Regions from separate parts of the Homo sapiens genome. Here all the other regions are linked to region 4. The links are contacts of gene promoters, found by promoter capture Hi-C in human tissues and cell types (Jung and others, 2019). All regions are on one chromosome and are shown on one strand. The core of a region is centred on a gene start or on the middle of the fragment in contact, and the rest is flanking DNA. Distances in the headings are between cores, read along the strand shown. Region 1 overlaps NXPH1 (neurexophilin 1). Region 2 overlaps NXPH1 (neurexophilin 1). Region 3 overlaps NXPH1 (neurexophilin 1). Region 4 holds the start of NXPH1 (neurexophilin 1).

Region 1 (3,379 bases), core at 502-3,001, 140 kb before region 4:
GCCTTGTTTCTAAAGGAACTCAGATGCTTGAGTAAATATTTGTAAATTTTCACCATAAAAGAGTAAAGGCCATTCAGAGTAAAAAGAGAATTTTGCAGACCAGAATTGATTACTTTAATATTCAAGATTACTAGTTCATCTGGAAACATAACTCTGACCCTATAGGAGTTTATAATCTAATGAACTCAAGAGAAAAGCAACATTTCAATGAAGAACAACCATCATCAGTACAAGGAACAAGTCAAAAACATGGTACTTATCCTATCACATCTCTCTCCCTCACCTCTCTTATCTAATAAATCACTATCTCCTAGATCCTTTTTTTCTACTGTCTGTTCCACAAAGTCATGTACGATCTGGTCCCAATATAACTTTCCCACCTCACCTCACAAGACCCCTCCTAAGCCTACGTGTGAAAGAAGGCTGCAGCCTTCCTTCAGTCCTACATTACAGTCATTCACCACTTTCTTCCATAAGCTACATTGTCTAGAATGTCCCTCAGTACATCCTTTCATTCAAACGTACTTCAAGAAAGGTTTCCTTGCGCTTCAGTAGAAATTAGTTCTTCCTATTATACACATGATAGCACCATGTCTGTCCTTAATACCACTTATCGCAGCTGTCACTTTTATTCCCTGTGGAACAAGTCAGATAGCATTGATTGCCACATTCTCCTCACTCCTACCCCAAAGGGCATGGATGATGACTACTTTGGTCATTATTGTGCTCCCAGTGCCCAACACAGTGTTCAAGGCATAGTTGATGTTTGCTAAGTATGGAAACATGAAATGAATGGAGTTTTCAAACATATGCCTAGAATACAGTTAAGACCATGGAAGAGTTTGATATACTTGCTTAAGAAAAAGAAAGCAAATAAAAGGCATATCTCTCTTCATCAGTTCTTGTGTTGTTATCAGTGGCTAGAATAAAAAGAGATAGAAGCTATTCTGGACAATCAGAGAAGCAGGTATACCCATCCCCTATTGAGATGGGAAGTTTTTACAGATGATAAAATCTCTCTAATAATCTTGAAATATAAGTTTGTTGATAGCAGTTCTTTTTCATTTAGAAGGCTTTCAAGCACTCTATAAAGAAGGAAGAAACTGGAGAGAGAGGAAATAATGGGAAACTATGATCCAGCAACAGGCTGCAGAATATATCCACCAGTATCCATAAAATGGGCCTATACATAAGCCATAGCTAGCTAACTTTGACCAAGTAAGAGCTTATTTAAAAAAAAAAAAGATCATTGCCCAATGCCTCACCTTTTGGTAGAATTAAAGAAAAATAAAACAGTGCTTCACAGAAAAACAGGAAACATTATAGAAAATTATATTAAGTGCATAGGCCTATCCAGATAATTCAAATGGAATAAATCTATTCACATTGAAAATATGGAGCTTACAGAACTTATGTTCTTTCTGCAGAAAAGTTAGCAGCAGACTTTTAAGATCAGAGCAACAGCATTGACTGTAGGTAGAAGTAATTTCATATACTTCAACTCTTTTAAAAGAATTTCTATGCTTTCTATTCATTGAAACAAATTCTAAACATGAACTCCAAATTTCTATTAGGACAGTCACATATAAAACAAAAGAATTTTAATGAGTTTTCTTCCCAAAATACCCAGAGGTATAAATTCACATTAAGGATTAATGACCTGTCAGCTTGTACTTAAAGGAGAAAAAGAGACATTTTAGTTGTAGAAATTCAAAAATAAAAGAGTATGAAGTAAGAAAACTTATCATTTTTCCCTTTTGTGTCATAAAGAGAACTGACCTGATTTATTTGCTTTAAATTGGCCAAAAGAAAAATGGATTAGAGTTGGCCTTTTAAGCAAAAATTCATTCTGAGCAAAGTTTTATGACAAAATTAGAAGGCTTAGTCAGAAATACTCTTTTAGTCACTTAAAGGATACAGCATTAATGTCAGAGTCAAACATAATATAAAAGGGAGAAGCTATTTACATTTTAGATTTAACAGAACGTCTCCGACGAATGCTATAATGTCGAAGGAGTACCTCACTCTCTTAACCAAGCATGTCTGGTGGTAAGTGCCATAAAACTACTTGAATTGCTATTTCAAACCATCAGTGCATTTTTATCCCTATTTTTTAAAGTCTTATCTATTTCAAGTAAAAGTTAATGCTCAGTTTTCTGATTCATTTACACTTGATGCACAGCCATGCCAGAGAAACTCTATTTGAGGTCCTATGAATCTCTTTTCTTCCCTTTCGAATTGAGAAGGGATGTTGTGACAGCAGGAGACGGAATCCAAGGCTGAACAAGATCAAGTTGAATTTGAAACACAGAACCTTCAATGTTTAAATAGATTCTAAATTTGGAAGCTTTCATTGTCCCACCCACTAAGTACATGTGATGCAGACACCAGGAAAACAACCTGTGGTGTTGTTTGGCCTTCCTTCTCCATCTGGGGTTCCATCTTCCTTTTTGTGGGTATGCACTCATGTGAAAGAAGTTAACAGATTCCATCTTTTTCCTTCAGAAAGAGACAACCTATTGACTAGACTGAGCAATCTTAAACTGAATCTGTAATGGCTCCATAAAAACATCTATGTGATGAGAGAAAATAAAATAAAGTCAGTTCGAGTCAGAGTCCCAGCTACTTGGGAGGCTGAGGCAGGAGGATCGCTGGAGCCCAGGAGCTGGAGACAAGCCTGGGCAACATAGAAAGACCCCATCTCTTAAAAAAATGTTTTTAATTTTGAAAATTTAAAAAAACAGTTTTGCCTAGAAAATATAAAATAAATTTGAGTATTTTATTTAGCTTTTCAGATGAATATTTCATGTCATAGACAAACAGAACACTTAGGGAAAAGGTGCAAACCGTGTACAGATTTTAAATAGACAATATGTACCTGAATAGCCTTTTTATACCATTTTTGCTCTTCTGGTCCTGCTCAGAGCCTGAACACTTACAGGGCACATCATTAAGCTAGAAGGTCCTAAGAACATCTTAAATCCTCAATAAATCTTTATGACACTCACAGTTCTGTATACCACCAGAGTACACCTTTAAAGGTTTCCATGACATAGAATTGACCTAGCACTTTTTACCTTCCAGGAGCTTTATGTAGTCACTGACAGAAGTGTGTAAAAATCAATTTATGTTCAATAAGGTAAATGTCAATGATGTCTTTAAACATCAGGAGCCAATGGCATAGTTTATTTCCAGACATTCAAATTTTGATAGCTGATGACCTTAAATATTATTTGGTCATGATCCAAAAGTTCAGAGACATTTAATAACCTATAATTAACTGGAAGAAAGTTCTAAAGTCATGGCATTCTCCTACTCAGAAGCCTTCCATGGCTCACAACTCCCTGCAAAAAGAAAGCTCATTGCATTAGTTTGGCAT
Region 2 (3,195 bases), core at 128-2,627, 170 kb before region 4:
GTAAACAGTGATGTCAAGCAAAATGACTCTCATTTATATCATTTAAGCTGGGATAAAATTTGTTTCATTATAGAGTAGTCATTTCCCTTAAAGTCAAGTTTCCAAGAACCTATCAATGACATTAGGTGAGGACTTACTGTATATATCCCTGTTCTCATTTTAATGTTGTACCTAATTACACAAGTAATTTTTAAGTGTGATCAAAAACTCCCTAGTATACCTGTCAGTACTTACAATATGACTCTTTGGATTTTTATATAAATTATTAAAATTCCTTATAATCATTTGTCATTCATATCACACGAAAAATGGATTCTTCTTTGGAGTTTATTTTAAGTGAAGTTTGTGGTGGTATTTTGGTGGGGTAGTTTCTGTTATTAGTGTCATATGACGCACAAAAAAGTCAATGTTTTCAAAGCTGCAAATCAAGAAGATGCAAACCTCCATATTTTTAAAAAAATACAGAAAGGGCCATTTCACTTCCCTCAAATTTCTATATTTTACTTGTCTCTCTTCTCACTCCACCTCTGCCACTACCTCCATTCTTATTTATCTGTTAAAAATACCACTAGGCTGGGCATGGCGACACATCACTGTAGTCCCAGCTAATCAGGAGTGGGAGGCTACTGAGGTGGGAGGCTTGCTTGAGCCCAGGAGGCTGAAGTTGCAGTGAGTTGTGACCACTCCACTGCACTGCAGCCTGGATGACAAAGCAAGACCCTGTCTCAAAAAAAAAAAAAAAATCACTGAATTTTTAAGAATTTGTCCTAATGAATAATTCTTGGACTTTCAAGACTTCCATTTATCCCTGAGAACAGCTGATCACTTCCTCCTAACTAGCTAAGTAGTTAATCTATTATGGTTAATAATTCAAGTAAGAAATTTGTATTAGTTTCCTCAGGCTGCTATAACAAAGTACCACAAACTGGGTGGCTGAAAACAATGGAAATGTATTCTCCCACAGTTCCAGAGGGTAGAAGCCAAAATTAGGGAATCAGCAAAGCAGTGTTCTCTCTGAGACTCCGGATAGAATCCTTCCTTACCTCCTCCCAGTTTCTGGTGGTCACCACCAATCCTTGGCATTCCTTGGCTTGCAGCTGCATCACTCTGATCTTGACTTCTATCGCCACATGGCATTTTCCCTAGGTATGTGTGTGTCTCTTCTCACCTCACGAGGGCACCAGTCATATTGGATTAAGAGTCCACCTTACTTCAGTACGACTTCATCTTAATTTACATCTGTTATGACTCTATTTCCAAATTGGGTCATATTCACAGGAACCAGATGTTAGGACCTCAACAGATCTTTTTGGGGAACATATTTCAACCCACAACAGTATCCCATAAAGGCATAGCCAACACAATTATAACAAAGCAAAGGGGTCTAGCAACATATTCCCACAGTTCAATGTGAAAACCATCATAGCTGAGTATATGGGATACTCTATTTCCAGAGGATATAATAATGATTTTAGAAAGAAAAGAGTCAAAGTTATTTGCCAGAGTTAACCTGAGTTCTCTTCTTAGGCAGTTCTTCTAAGTACAGAAGTCTGTTGCATTAATAGCCAAGGGCAAAATGTGGTCTGTAGTAATTATACTGATAACATGATCAACTAATGAAGTTCATTAGTCTAGTTGATGGAAACAGGAATTTATTGACTTTTTTATTTGCCACTAGTTAGTGAGTACTGTATCGAGTGACACGATCCAAGAAAAGTATGAAGCCAAATGCATTCTTCTAGCAACTCATTGGTCTTAATTAAACTGTGCTTTTAACTCATTTAAGCAAAATCACCCAGAGCATGTAAAATTTAAACACCTATTTAAGCAATAATATATATAAGTACTGTATTAATTATGGATAGGCCAATTATTGCTACTAAATTTAAAATGTTCCAATGTGATTTCACACTGTTCAAGTTCAAACTTCGAGTTAATTTTGTTAATTTTACTATAATTTAAACTGTATTGGTCCCAGGATATATATGAGTCCAACCGTATATTTGTCCCAGGAAAAACTAGAATTAAAGCCCCAACTAAAATTATTCAATAAAATATGTCCTCAGATTACCAAATTTACTAAGAATAGGTTATATTCACAAAACATCAGAAATCAAGCAATCAATAAAATTAGTGGTTTGCTTTTCAAGGTAGAAATATATATCTAGAAAAAAATAAAAATATTTTCAAGAAACTATATGTTCTCATCATCTAATCCCAGCTTCCTACCAATTCTGTTTTTTTAGATTCTTCAGAAAGTAGCATCACTATCATGTCTTGATTTACAAATATCATTCTGCACATATTCACTGGACTAGGAGGATATACACTTAGATTTGAACCAAAGACCCTGGGCAAATATGTCAAGTTTACAATATGGCAGAGGCAATTCATTTAACAAGCTTTTGAAAAGGCAGAGTGAGAGGGCAGCAGTCCTGTATCTTTGCCCAGTACAAAAGGAGGGTCAAAAACCATGCCTTAACTTCCAATGCCTGGCAGAAATTTTATACTATGCTTGTTTCAGATGGTTTTCTTGATCCCCATTATGTTTTTAGCTCAGCAGAGGAAAGAGACAGTTTTTAAAATGTCACAGTGGGAAGTACTTTAATATTGAGTGGTAAATCCCCAGAGGCAAATGCAAAATACATCACATTGTTAACAGTACCTTTGAAGCAGGCACAAGATTGTTCAAACAAGTAACGTAGGTTTCTTTCCTTTGGTTGAAGTTGTATGTGGTTAGGGGTTACGTAGGGTGGGGAAAAGGAGAAGAGTTTTCCATAAAACATATTTTTTTTTATTCTTAGGTGTTTTATATTGTACTACAAAATATACAATTTTCCTCTCATCTTCTATCAATCTGTTCATCTGTTTCCTAAATGTAATAAAGGAAATTATATATAGAACAAACAGTGATGTTAAATTGAGTACTGAATACCTGAAAAGGTCAACTTGTCTGTTGTACTATGTTTAATAGCATCATTGTAGGTCATTGCTACCCAATCCCTTGCACAAAATCACCAAGAACTATTTTTACATATTAGACACAGGAAGAATTATGAATATTCATATGTGAACTAATTAATTTTCTGGAATGACAGATTCTTTCAAGGAAAAAATGTTGGCCTCATTTTATTTATTGTATGGAAGAAAATAACAAAGATGTATAACAACTCCAAACTACAGTCTCTGGAGATT
Region 3 (3,102 bases), core at 582-3,081, 200 kb before region 4:
GGGAACTTTCACTTACATTTACTCAAATATCCCAGAGGGCTGTTGCTGGAGTTTGGCTATTGAGTGAAAGAGTCTCCTGAGTATGTAAGCACAAACACAATCCTTTTCAGGGTATAAATGAAGCTGGGCACAATTAGGCGGAAAACGATATCTTTAAAGGAAAAAGAAAGTCTATGCAGGCTGCAGTCCAACTTCAATAAAAATAAAAGAGAGAAAGAAAAACTTTACCCTTGGATAGATAAAGTGACCTTCAGTGGGTGTAGTGAAAGACATTACCTTTAAGCATCATATTTCCTGGATTCTTTCTCTCTCTCAAAGAACAGCACTTTTTTTCTATAAATAGGAGGTACAATTAGTACACATTTAAAAACCCTACCAGTTAGCTGAAACAAATGGGCAAACTATCCAAGTGTATATATTCTAAATTCAGTTGGACCAAACTTTTTTAATTGTCAAAAAAAGAAAAAAAGCTGTTTCATCTTTCCATTGGTTAAAGACGTAAATGCTTCCAAGAAACAATTCAGTAGAATAAAATACGATTTCTATAGGGGGTTGATCTGTTATTACATTTCTTTTTAAATATTTCAAATGCTTTTAGACCCGGTGTCATCACAGTCACTCTCCAACGTTCTGGCAGGTAATTGAGTGATGGTTCTCTATCTAACATATCTATCTTGATGCATCTTTATTTTCTTTTTTCTATACCCATAACATTGCCCTTAAGATTTAGCAGTGGTCTTGATAATGGAGGAAATACCAGAAACCAATCACTAAGATCTTGCAGAATTTAATAAAATAATTCAAAGGGTGCCCAAGAGATTGAATGCATTTATACCACTAAAAAGAGAAAGGTAGGAAAAGAAACTTGAAAGAAACTCTGAAGTTCTTTTGAGTTCAATAGCTGTCTAACCAAATAGAATGTGATGTGAGATTTTAGGGCAAAAGGCAACAAAGACTGCTGTGTGTTAGTTCTTAAAGAATTGTGCCTTCAGCCTGCTAATAGCTGTCATTCTCATAACCTTTGAAGAATTATGCACAGTACTTGGGCTCCAAGCTTACCTCTACCTCGGTGACATAGCATTTTTTTCCACTTGCAAATCTTATTCAGCACTTTAGGTTGCCTCTAGAAAAATGGCCTACGGGTTGACAACTTCAGACAGGTAAGATCTCTAGTCTGCTTTTGACAAATGTGATTAGAGATAGCTATTGTTCAAAACTCCCAGTATTATAGCTACATCATCAAATGTTGTTTGCACTTCCAGTAATATGTCAATGGTGAGAAGCAAAAGAGTCATTTCTACACACAGCAGAAAGTTATACAGAAATTATTATTCAAGTACTTTAAAAGTGTCTTGTGAAGGAGTTGAAACATCTGAATTCTGGAGTTCTCAATACTTATTCTTGGGGAAATTATCAGAGATTTGGGGCAGAGAGGAGTTCTTTACATCTGCATGCTTTCCTATTAAGTAAGAAGATAGATATAAACCCTATCATTTCCTGGGCCATTTCCATCTCAAAGCAAATCACATGGTGAAGTGAGGCTGCTCTTTGGAAAAAAAAAAAAAAAAAAAAAAAAAAAAAACTCTTCTGGACAATCTCTACCATGCAGATAACTGCAGAAGAAAGAACTCACTCCAAAGAATTTTATACCTCTTGCTTTGTAAGTTAATGCAAATCTGGCCATATCATAGGCCTGAAACACTCAGATGAGTATGATAGCAAAACAAAACAAACCTTATCATTATCCAGGTGTATTAGTCTATTTTCACACTGCTTTGAAGAAATACCCAAGACTAGGTAATTTACAAAGTAAAAGACTTAATTTACAAAGTAAATTAAATTTACTAAGTAAAAATGGACTCCCAGTTCCACATGGCTGGGGAGACCTCACAATCATGGTGGAAGGTGAAGGAGGAGCATAGGCACCTCTTACATGGCTGCAGGCAAGAGAACATGTGCAGGGGAACCGCCCTTTATGAAACCATCAGTTCTCATGAGATATTCACTATCATGAGAACAGCATGGGAAAACCCGCCCCCATGATTCAATTACGTACCACCGGGTCTCTCCCATGATACGTGGGGATTATGGGAGCTACAGTTCAAGATGAGATTTGAGTGGGGACACAGCTAAACGACATCACCAGGAAATGAAAAAATAAATAGAAATTGTCATGAGACAGATTCGATTTCAGCCTCACATCAGACTCAACTTTCAAACAATCAGAATTACCCTATAATGGAATAAATGACCCCATAATAGGAAGAAATCTCTATTTACAGATGCTCTTAAGCAAAGGTGTTTTCATAAATAAGGAAACTGGCCCAGCATATAACCTGGACTTCAAATTCTTAAGCAAATACTTCACACAAAAAATTGAAAAATATTTAACTTTACTACAACTGACAAGAACCTTCCTTCCGCAGACCTCAGTTTTGTCATCCACAAAAAGAGGGTTCAACTCAAGAGAGACTGTCAAACATGCATTGTTGTCAGCTCATGCAAGGTTCAGCTTGATGAACCATGGGCTGTATAAAAATTACGAATTCTTTTTTCAGGTCTTCTGGGTAATTGGCAATTATTTTTTGCAAATTGTTAAACGTTACTAAACATCCTGTTGAGTGGTTTGTTAAGTGTTTCTAAAGTTTGGGTTTTATAAATGAATGTTAGAAGATCATTAGAGCTTACTGAGGCTGAAATTCAGTATTCTACTGAGAAATTCGGTTGTCACGCAACACTGTAGTACAATGTGTGTGCGCTTTCACATCCGCATAATTCTAAAGAAGGAAACTCTATTGTGAGATCATCAACAAGGATGTCTTTTTTGAGATGGACTCTCGCTCTGTCTCTAGGCTACAGTGGCACGATCTTGGCTCACTGCAATCTCCGCCTCCTGGGTTCAAGTGATTCCCCTGCCTCAGCCTCCTGAGTAGCTGGGATTACAGGCGCATGCCACCACATCCGGCTTTTTGTATTTTTAGTAGACACAGTGTTTCACCATGTTAGCCAGGATGGCCTCCATCTCCTGACCTCGTAATCCACCTGCCTCATCCTCCCAAAGTGACGGGATTACAGGCGTGAGCCACCATGCCCGGCCTGTTA
Region 4 (3,305 bases), core at 674-3,173:
GGGGTCGTAGCGGGGAGTGGGGGACCAAAAAAAAAAGGGAGGGAGGGTACGAAAAATTGAAAAGCGAGTAAATCCAGCGCCTGAGACCAGCAAGCGCGCGGTCCGCAGCTGGGGAGGCGGGCGGGCGGACGAGAGGGAGGGTGAGGGGCTCCTTGCCCCCTGCGCTCCTCGGGTGCGAGTTCCCAGGCGGCGGAGCACACTGAGCCGCGTGCAGGCTGGTTCGGAGCCCAGGCTTCTCCGGCAGCGAGACCTGCCCTTGTGTTGGGTGGCCCGGCGGCTCGGACTAAAGGCGGCGGCTGGTTCTTCGCCAGCCCTGGCAGTGCTCACACACGTACACACCAGCAGAGAGAGATAGAGGGGAAAGATAAAGGGAGAGAGAGAGATTGAGCGAGGGGGGCGCGGTGAGAGGAAGAGGTAGGTAGAACTGACCGCGATTAGGTGCTAGGTACCTCAACACGTTCGGTGAAGTGGGGGTGGGGAAAGAGAATGCAATTTGCATACAGGAAAGCAGGGATCAGTTTACCCATTCGAACCCCTGGCGCACACAGAGATACCCACGAATGCTCACAGTCACATCTCTAGCACTACTTTTTTCGAGCCAAAGGGTACAGCCGGTCGCTAACTTCTAGAGAAGAAGCCTCCTCCGAGCTGTGAGGGTCACCTGCCAGGCTTGTTCTCTTTCCTAACCAGCGCCCCTCCCTGCCGTCCCTTCCTCGTGCCCACCACCCCGCTCCCAGGTGTACCCTCCGGGAACAGCGGAGGCAAAGGGTACGTACCGCACAGGACTTGGGGCGAATCCTGCGAGAAGGGACCGCTCTGGGCAGGCTCCATGGAGAAGCTACTCGGGCCTGGCGTCTCCAGCGCCCCGGACGTGCCCTCCCAGGCGCTCCGTCTCCATGCTCGAGCGCAGACGGGTCCGGCTGCCTCGTCCAGCTTTGGCGGAGTCGCCGTCCCAGTGCCCGGGTCGCGCTCAGGATTGGTTCGCGGGAGCCAAGGCTTGGCACAGTTGGATTCACGGTGCAGGAAACTTAAGAGGCAAGAGAGGGAGGGAGCAGTAGAGGAGGAAAGAGAGGAAGACAGAAAGGGAGGGAGAGCAAGAGGGAGGGAGAGAGGGGAATGCGCCGGGCTGCTGCACCGGACGGACTGGGACTGCCAGCGCTGGCACCCGGACGAACAGTCCAGGACTCTCGGCTTCCCACAGCTGCCTGAGGATGGTGGAAATGACTTAAGGGGAGGAGACTGAGCAAGTCCTCTGGACTTGAAGTGGAGAGATAAGACACTGGCCTTTCGGAAGAAAAGAGAACCACACGGCAGACGAGAGCAGTCCGAGTTTCTGAGGGAGGGGTGGGGTGGCGAGAATCTGGAGCCTGCGGCACACGGAGCAGCTGTACCTCTACCCGCGACGCTGGGAAGCCCAGGAGCCGGTCCCCAGTGGAGTCCCGGGCGCTGTCCCTGGTGCTGCCCGGCCACCCGGGGACGCTCTGGAGCGCTTTGGGTTTCCGGCGGCCGCGGTGGTCGTGGTTTCTCCGCAGAGCCGCGGCTTGGCACGCCTACCTTCCTGACACGGACAATTACTTTGGCACGTGGGTGAATGATTCCTCAAAGACTAATTAGTACCCTGTGTAAACAGATCCGGCTCTCAGGCTCTCGCGGGCTGGGCCCACAGGGACAAGTGGCTCCCGCGGTGTCTTCGGTGGCCGCAGCGCCCCCTTCCCGGGGGGCGTAGGGAAGATCGCAAAGCCCAGGGGAGTGGCGGGAAGAGCAGCCGGGAGTCGCGTAGGGCGGGGAAGGGCGCGGGAGGGTGCAGGGCGCCCCTGCCGGCCTCGAGCGCCGACGCCGGGCGCCTCCGACCTGTGGCTGCCGGGCCGGAGGCGGGGGAGCCGCAGACTGCCAGCCATTCAGCTCGAGACAGCCGAGAGGACTGGGCGACCTTGGCCTCTGGACTCCTCGCCGCCGGCTGGGCTGAGCGTGAAGGGGGAGGAGGAGGACGGGGGATGCTTCGAGCCGTCACCACCTCCCTCGCTACTGACACCTCCCACTCAACCAGCGTCTCCCAGACTCGGCCTCTGTGCTCCGACTCTGGCTGTCTCTGTCTTTCTCAGTCTCTCCCTTACTGTCCCTATTTCTCAGTATCTTTCTCACTCCCTCTCTCTCTCTGTCTCCTTCTTCTGTCATTCTTGTGGTCTGCGTCTCTGTCCCTCAGCATCTTTCTGCCTTTTTCTGCCTTTCTGTGTGTCTCACTCAGGATTTCTGACTCTAGGTCTCTGTATCTCTGTGCCTCTACCGTGTCCCTGCCATTCCCCCTCAAACCCTGTTTTGTTTTTTGTTTTTTTTCCTCCACCCTTCCAGTGCACCACCACCAGAGCAGTTTCACCAGTCTCGGGAGACAGCCAGGACCAGCTTCTTCTGGTGCTGGTGGGGTTGCCAGTGCTCCTTGAGCTTGCCCAAATTCAGGGCACAAATCGGAACCCGGAAGAGGGTATCTCTTCCCCAACCTTGCCCATTGCATCTCCAAGCCTGCCCTTCACCAGAGCCTCTCCTGGGGTGATGCACATATCCATATCAATCTGTAGGAATTGTATGGAAATTTATCTCAGGAACCTGAGTTAGTGACATCAAAATCGAATTGTGATATTTAATGAGTCTGGAATGTCCTTTCCTCAAGTGTGGCTGTGGACACTCTGGCAGGTCTGGGCCTAGATACAATGTACACTCTAGACAATAGGTCCCAGGCTGAATTCCCCTGGATGATGGAGACCACCCCTCAAACAAGGCAGTGACAATCAGCAGAGCCACCCAGTCCTGCAGCAGAGGCAAGAGGAGCCCCACTGAGACCTTCCCCTGGAATCAGATCTCCAAAGACCTCCAAATTAGATCCCCACTGTAGAACATACCTACCAGCACTTTGAGGTCTACACTCTCCCTTCCAGCTAAAAATAACTCTTTAAAGAGCAAGCTCTTCTAATCTTAAAAGTTGTACTCTGCTGCTGTGACCTCCTGGAATTCATTGGGGCATATGCAGAATAAAGCAGTGAAGCACACCTTCTAACTGTGTCTCTGAAAATCCACTTCAGAAAAAACGCACATGTACATATAGCATAATTACAATGTTTTCTTGACTATTTTCACTTACCAGCTATTTCATTTTCTTAAAAACTTTAAACTTTAAAGAAGAAAAATTAAAGTATTGGGGCACCCGTATCTGAGGCCAAATGGTCAAAGCAGGGGCAAAAAAAGCTTTGTCTAATTCCATCCTCTAGGATTCATAAGGCTATCCTAAAATTGATTCCTATTTGTACAGGAGC

Evidence for each region. The method cuts DNA at HindIII sites, captures the fragments that hold promoters and counts their contacts. A contact is called where the count stands out against the background at its distance.
Region 1: a fragment that was not itself captured here is called in contact with the fragment with the promoter of NXPH1 in region 4 in 3 of the 25 tissues and cell types used here (bladder, dorsolateral prefrontal cortex and hippocampus).
Region 2: a fragment that was not itself captured here is called in contact with the fragment with the promoter of NXPH1 in region 4 in 2 of the 25 tissues and cell types used here (aorta and bladder).
Region 3: a fragment that was not itself captured here is called in contact with the fragment with the promoter of NXPH1 in region 4 in 2 of the 25 tissues and cell types used here (bladder and heart right ventricle).

Annotation. Positions count from the first base shown.
Region 1 is chr7:8,573,623-8,577,001 of GRCh38, reverse strand. The region is part of intron 2 of NXPH1 (neurexophilin 1); the gene reads right to left. The region is part of intron 3 of LOC105375144 (a long non-coding RNA gene); the gene reads left to right. Among named protein-coding and RNA genes, the nearest start is that of NXPH1, 140 kb to the right of the region's middle. The HindIII fragment of the contact is 6,342 bases long and covers 1-3,379 here.
Region 2 is chr7:8,605,878-8,609,072 of GRCh38, reverse strand. All of the region lies in intron 2 of NXPH1 (neurexophilin 1), which reads right to left. All of the region lies in intron 2 of LOC105375144 (a long non-coding RNA gene), which reads left to right. Among named protein-coding and RNA genes, the nearest start is that of NXPH1, 170 kb to the right of the region's middle. The HindIII fragment of the contact is 5,461 bases long and covers 1-3,195 here.
Region 3 is chr7:8,633,146-8,636,247 of GRCh38, reverse strand. The region is part of intron 2 of NXPH1 (neurexophilin 1); the gene reads right to left. Among named protein-coding and RNA genes, the nearest start is that of NXPH1, 200 kb to the right of the region's middle. The HindIII fragment of the contact is 4,875 bases long and covers 1-3,102 here.
Region 4 is chr7:8,432,227-8,435,531 of GRCh38, reverse strand. NXPH1 (neurexophilin 1) reads right to left here and starts at 1,923. Exons shown (of 3, transcript NM_152745.3): 1 at 777-1,923. RefSeq lists enhancers at 1-263, 264-811, 812-1,359. The HindIII fragment of the contact is 8,604 bases long and covers 1-3,305 here.